Regions from separate parts of the Homo sapiens genome. Here region 1 is linked to region 2. Evidence: promoter capture Hi-C in 16 types of primary human blood cells and fetal thymus (Javierre and others, 2016). All regions are on one chromosome and are shown on one strand. The core of a region is centred on a gene start or on the middle of the fragment in contact, and the rest is flanking DNA. Distances in the headings are between cores, read along the strand shown. Region 1 overlaps UCK2 (uridine-cytidine kinase 2). Region 2 holds the start of POU2F1 (POU class 2 homeobox 1).

What was found. The method cuts DNA at HindIII sites, captures the fragments that hold promoters and counts their contacts. A CHiCAGO score of 5 or more calls a contact.
Region 1: a fragment that was not itself captured here is called in contact with the fragment with the promoter of POU2F1 in region 2 in 1 of 17 cell types (erythroblasts); the score reaches 5.1 in erythroblasts.

Annotation. Positions count from the first base shown.
Region 1 is chr1:165,843,761-165,846,657 of GRCh38, forward strand. The region is part of intron 1 of UCK2 (uridine-cytidine kinase 2); the gene reads left to right. Among named protein-coding and RNA genes, the nearest start is that of UCK2, 18 kb to the left of the region's middle. The HindIII fragment of the contact is 527 bases long and covers 1,092-1,618 here.
Region 2 is chr1:167,218,959-167,222,259 of GRCh38, forward strand. POU2F1 (POU class 2 homeobox 1) reads left to right here and starts at 1,928. Exons shown (of 16, transcript NM_002697.4): 1 at 1,928-2,000. The coding sequence starts at 1,940. POU2F1-DT (POU2F1 divergent transcript) reads right to left here and starts at 1,578. Exons shown (of 1, transcript NR_185889.1): 1 at 873-1,578. RefSeq lists enhancers at 1,511-1,620, 3,151-3,301 and silencers at 1,801-1,900, 2,251-2,400, 2,621-2,900, 2,911-3,090. The HindIII fragment of the contact is 11,517 bases long and covers 1-3,301 here.

The sequences.
Region 1 (2,897 bases), core at 105-2,604, 1.4 Mb before region 2:
TTATCATACTTTGCCACTTTTTATTCTTAATCAGAAGTAACACATGTTCTTGTAAAATGTTGATTTAATACTAATGGAGTGCCTACTGCAACTCTCTTGATTCCACTGCCTTATTTTTTTCTTATATCACTAATACCATTTGAAATAATTTTGCACGTGTTTATTGTTTATCTCTTTTCAATGTATTTCTTTTGGTAATAGCTAATACTTCCCGAGCACTAACTATATACTGAGTGCTATTCTAAGTGTTTTATTTGTATTAATGCCTTTATTTCCTCTCACAGCCCTTTCAGGTAAGGTACTATAATTATCCCCAATTTCAACATGGGAAGACTGTAGCACCAAGGAGTTAAGTACCCACTGTGTATAGAGTGCCAGGTGGGGCTGGCATTTAAACTCTTGGCTTCAGAGTCCAAAAAACCTACTCTGCTCTATTGAGTCTCAGTGCAAGCCTGAAAGGGCACGTATGCCTTCTCCTGCAGTGCCTGCACCTAGAACGGCTCCCTCCTCGTAGTTGACATTCAGTGTGGATGAACACGAGGTATTCCAAGTAAGAAGTAAAAATAAAATCCTTCAGCACCTGTGGTACTGTGATATAATAAGAAATATGTGTTTGGTCTCTGCCCCCTCATTCCTGGCACAGAGCTCCTAAAACCCTGTGGATAGGGGCACTAGGAGAACCTCTTGTTCTAATATGTTCCTGACACAGAGCACCCTCAAACCTTTGTAATTTCCTGGGTGATAACAGAGCTCCTAAATCCCTTAGAATTTCCCAGGTGATAGGAGCATCTTTTGTTCTAACAAGATAACTGTGGTGGGCTCCTGGATAGCCAGGATGGTGGCTGGTTGCTAAGGGAACGAACCGCGTGATTACGGTGTTAGAACTTTCAGCCCCATGCCCCTGACCTCTGGGGAGGTGAGAGGGAGAGGGGGGCTGAAGGTCGAGCTGATCACTAATGACAGCATTGTGATCAATGATGCGTATGTAACGAAGTTTTCATAAAAACCCAAAAGGACAGTGTTTGAATGAGCATCCAGATAGCAGAACAGGTGGGGGTTCCTGGAGGGTGACTGCCTCGAGAGGGTGTGGAAGCTTTGCACCCTTCCCACATGCCTCACCCTTTGCGTCTTTTTAATCTGGCTGTTCCTGTGTTTCCTTTATAATCTTTATAATAAATTGTTCCCTTTATAATAAATGGGTAAACATAAGTAAGTGTTTCTTTGAGCTCAGTGAGCCAAGCTAGCAAATTAATCGAACCTGAGGAGGGGTCATGAGAACCCTGATTTAAAAACCTCTGTCAGAAGCACAGGTCACAACCTGGGACCTGCCATTGGCATCTGAAGTATGGGGCAGTCTTGGGGACTGAGCCCTCAGCCTGTGGGATCTGGCGCTCTCTCCAGGTAGATCGTGTCAGAATTGAATTACAGGACATCCAGCTGGTGTCTGCTGATGAATTGATTGGTTGCTGGTGGGGAGAAATCGCCATACGTTTTGGTGACCAGAGGTGAAATATTCTGTGCACGGTAGAGGGTAGGAAAGGCACTTTGGTTTTTTTCCTACATCTTCTTGGCGCACTCTTCCTCAGAGGTTAGTTGCTGTAATTTGTTTTCCTCATAAAGCTTTTCCTTTTCAATTACAAATATATATTTATGCACAGATGTAGTACTTATAAAATGAATGTTACCTCTCTTGGGAAACAGACTTTTTTTCTTCGCAACTCTTTGGAGAGCATGTCCCTTGAGGTGTGACATTATTTTAGCTGTGTAACAATTAACTGGATCTGAGTTGTTTTACATCAGCTAAATATCAGTCTCCTTGAGATTTGGGAAATATTTAAGTCTCATCAGCAGTATTTTGGGGAAGGGGGTGCTCCTGCAGACAGCAGCTGCTGTTTTCTGTTTGTTTGTTCATTGATTGATTGATTGAGACACAGTCTCGCTCTGTTGCCCAGACTGGAGTGCAGTGGCATGATCACTGCTCACTGCAGCCTCAACTTGCTGGACCCAAACAATCCTCCTGCCTCAGCCTCCTGAGTAGCTGGTACTATAGGAGTGTGCCACCATGCCCAGCTAATTTTAAAATTCTTTTTAGAGATGGAGTCTCACTTTTTTGCCCAGGCTGATATCTAACTCTGTACTCCAGTGATCCTCCTGCCTCGGCCTCCGAAAGTGTTGGGGTTACAGGTATGAGCCACTGTGCCCAGCATTCTGTGCGTTCTCACTGGCTGTCATGCCCTGCAAAGAAAGTTGACCAGGTGCAGTGGCTCATGCTTGTAATTCCAGTGCTTTGGGAGGCCGAGGTGGGATGATCACTTGAGCCCAGGAGTTCCAGACCAGCCTGAGCAACACAGTGAGATCTTGTCTCTACAGAAAATTAAAAAAGAAAGTAAAAAAAATTAGCTGAGTGTGGCACCTGTGGCCTAGCTAGCTACTCTAGAGACTGAGGTGGGAGGATCACTTGAGCCCAGTAGTTTGAGGTTACAGTGAGCTATGATTGTGCCACTGTGCTCCAACATTGGCAGTAGAGTGAGACTTTGTCTCTAAAAAACCACAACATTTTAAAATTTATTTAATGTCCCTGGATTCCTACAGGTATTGAATTCCTATGGGTATGGGATTTTGACTGTGGTCTTTTCCTAGTTTCTATAACTGTGCTGATAAGAAAAAAGAGACTGCCCTTTTTTTTAAACAAAACAAAACAAAACAAAACATCTGGAAGTTGGTCAAGTCTTATCTTTCCTTCTGTTTCTCTCTGGTGGTAGCAGACAGTTTACCTGTAGGTCAAGAGTTTTTAGATTAGCCTGGGATCCATGGATAGGAGTCAGAAGGGCTATCTATCTTCTGAAACCACATGTAGAATTTAGTTAAGTGTGCATTTCACATTTCACTGGGGAGAG
Region 2 (3,301 bases), core at 678-3,177:
AAGAATGCATAACACATACACTAGCTTCAATGACTTTCCGAAGGTCATATTAATATACTTTTTGAACCAAAGAGCAAAACTAGGATTAAATAGAAGACAGGAAATTAAATGAGGGTATTTGAGCTCTTTTTCTTAATGGAGATGATTTCAAATTTGTGGTCCCCAGAGCAGGGGCATGTACTTAACTATTTCCAATAAGGTTGTCAATTCTGAGACTTCCCTTACAGTAATGCTGGTGAAAATAACTTAGGCCATATTTCCAGATTAACTAGTTAAATATTTCATTTCCTTAAGTGTGCTGGTTGGCGTGGCTCTAAATAATTAGATTACAGGGCGGTCTAATTATTTGGTTCAAACAGTCATGCACACACCCTAAGGCTTAATTACCACGAACAAATCAATCCCACCCCCAAATCGTTGCCTGTCACTGACAATAGCTTTAACTGTACTTGCACAGTTAAAGGAGTCCAACGAGCATTCTAGGACTGATGATTAAAACTTTACCCATTAAAATAATTGCACTCACTTGGAAATCAGTTTTGTTTTTAATTGTAGAACCAGCAGTTCTACCCAATTTAAACTTCAGTCATATCTCTCAAGACAGATTAACTAGAGCTGATTTTTTTTAAACTTTGCTTACCATGAAATACACCTTTCTATTCTTAAAAAACAAACAAACAAACAAAAATAGGGCTTTAAAAATTCGTAAAATAATTAGACCTGGGACTTTGTCCAGGGAATTTCGCCATTTAAGATAAAGAAAACTCAGCAACATTATGTCTAGTTACCAAGAAAGATATGTGCAACGCGAAACCTTTCCCCAATACCATATTTACTCTGAGAAACACAGCAAAATAAAATTCACGATGAAGTTACGATTTCGACATTTTTATTAGTCATCAGCTTACTGCTAGGTTTTAAAAGGTGTTCCAAGGCGGGAAGAAGGCGCGGGGGGAAGCCTCAGAATATGGGGTCTGTTTCGATTGGGGGGAGCGGCGTTAGAGGGGCGTGAAGGCAGAAAGGAAGGGTAGGGCGGAAATTAGCGACTTAATAAGACGCCTAGCTCCCGAGGAAGCCAGCCTGGCGTTAGAAGCAAGTAGAGCAGAAGAGATTTAGGGCTAATTAAAACAATCACACGACACTCCCCCTCGCGTTTGCCGGGGCCGGGTCTCCTGCACTAGCAGAGCCGGGGGCGGGGATTAGCTCGGATTCAAATTTAAAGCGGGAGGCCCGCGTGTGGCTCAGCAGGTGCCTCATGCCCGGCTCCCGTGGCGGTCGTTTCCGCCCCTACCTGCCCAGAGGGCCGGAAATTACCTAGCGAGGAGCGGCTTATCCATTGTTGCCAATGTTTCAACTGCGCGGAAACCCTGAAGAAAGTGCGGAGCACAGGGCACGCGGGCCGCTCACTGCCCTTCCACGCGCCCCCACGTTTCTGGCCGCTGCGCTCCTTGCCGTGCTTTTACAATGCCACAGGCCACTGGGGGAGACCGGAGCGAAGCCAGGAGGGAAGCAAGGCGGGAGGAAAAGGGAGAAGTGTAAGAAGACACAGGCGCCCGGGATACTATATAATCTGGTTCTGAGCTAGAGGGAGCGCATGCGCCGGCGACACTTCTGGCGGCAGGAGAAAGGCGCGCATGCGCAGAGCCGAGACGAAAAATGAAGCCACAGGGTGCCTGGCTGATTGAGGGCGCTGCTTTAGCTACCGAAGGGCCACAGCGCCCCGAAGGCGCGTGCGCAGAGCGCGGGAAGGGGGTGGAGCTCTTCTGAGGGGGCCGGGGCGAACAGAGCCGGCCTCGCGCGCCCCCTGGCGCGCGCCCGGGGAGAGGAAGGAGCGGGAGGGGGCGGAGAGGAGGGAGGAGGCAAGCAGGGCGGGAGGGGGGAGGGGAGCCAGAGCGAGGGAGGGTTTATCGACCGGGCGATTTTGGTTAAAATATTCAAAATGGCGGACGGAGGAGCAGCGAGTCAAGATGAGAGTTCAGCCGCGGCGGCAGCAGCAGCAGGTAATCATTACAGCATTTTACATATTCATATTCATACTCAACCCCGGCTCCCGCTGCCCCCCCCCGCGACTTAGCATAATTTATTAGTACTCAGGATTATTATAATTAACGGCGGGGAGATGGGGGGCCGGGGAGCATTGAGCCCCCGCCGGGCGCTGAGCGGAGGGGGAAAGAGGCTCGGAGCGGCCAGGCGGAGGGGGAAGACAAGGGGCAAAGGGGGCTGCGATCCACTGCCCTCCTCCTGCACCCGGCCCACCCCGCCGCCGCTCGCCGTCTGCCCGTCGGCACCGGCCCTCCTCCTCTGCCGGCCGCCGCTGCCGCCTCCTCGCCGCCGTGCCCGAACCCGAGCGGGTCCGCGGCGGGGCGGCGGGGCCGGGGCAGAGGGAGAGGACAATAAAGACATTTTACATATTCATAGCTGCTGGGCCGGCGGGGCGCAGTAGGGCGCGGGCGGGCGGCCGGGGCCGGGCGGGCGCGGGGTGGGGGGCGTGAAGGGGGATGGAGGCGGCGGCGAGCACAATGCCGGGGAGGCGGCGGGGCCGGAGCGGACCCCGGCGGCCGGACACCCGCACGCGTCTTCCCCCGGGAGCGGGCCCGGGCGGGGGGGCGCTGCCCGCCTTGGGGGGCGGCCCTCAGGGCAACCGGGGGTGCGCGCGGGGAGAGCTCCCTGCCCGCGCCCCGCGCGGGGCTGAGCCCGGGGGTCACGGCCCCAGGCACTTCGGCCTCGCCCCACTGGTCCCCAATGTGGTGGCCTGACCCAAGCCAGGCCTGCTCTCTAGGTGGGTAGGGGTGAGCGGTCGTGGGCGCTGCGAGGTGGCCTGGGGCGGCGGGGGTGGGGAACCCGCGCAGGGGTCTGCGTGCCCCCCCTGGGGGGTGGACTGGATTGGAAGGAGTCCTTGGGGCAAGTTCCTTCCGAGGGGATGTCCTCTGGGGCGGCCCGCGCGCCCCCGGCCGGCGGTCGGCAGCCCCTTTGCGTTGTCGGCCGGGGCTTCGCGGGCGAGTTGGGCTGGAGGTGCCTGGCGTGGTCTGACCTCCGTCTCCCTTTGCCCCTCCCCGCTGCCCCCCCTCCGTTCCCCCCACCCCCTGCGCCTGACCGGGACGCACGGGGCGGGTGGCCCTCCGGGGCCTCTCGCTCCGAGGCCCCAGAAGCGCCCAGAGGCCTCCCGAGAACTTGGATGTAAAGGGCTGCCCTCCTGCCCCAGAATGGGCTGGCCTGACAAGTTGATCGTATTCTCGATTTCCTCTCTCCTGTTGGGAGTCGGTGGGGAGGGACGGGGATCCCCCTCCCTTCTTCTGTGGCG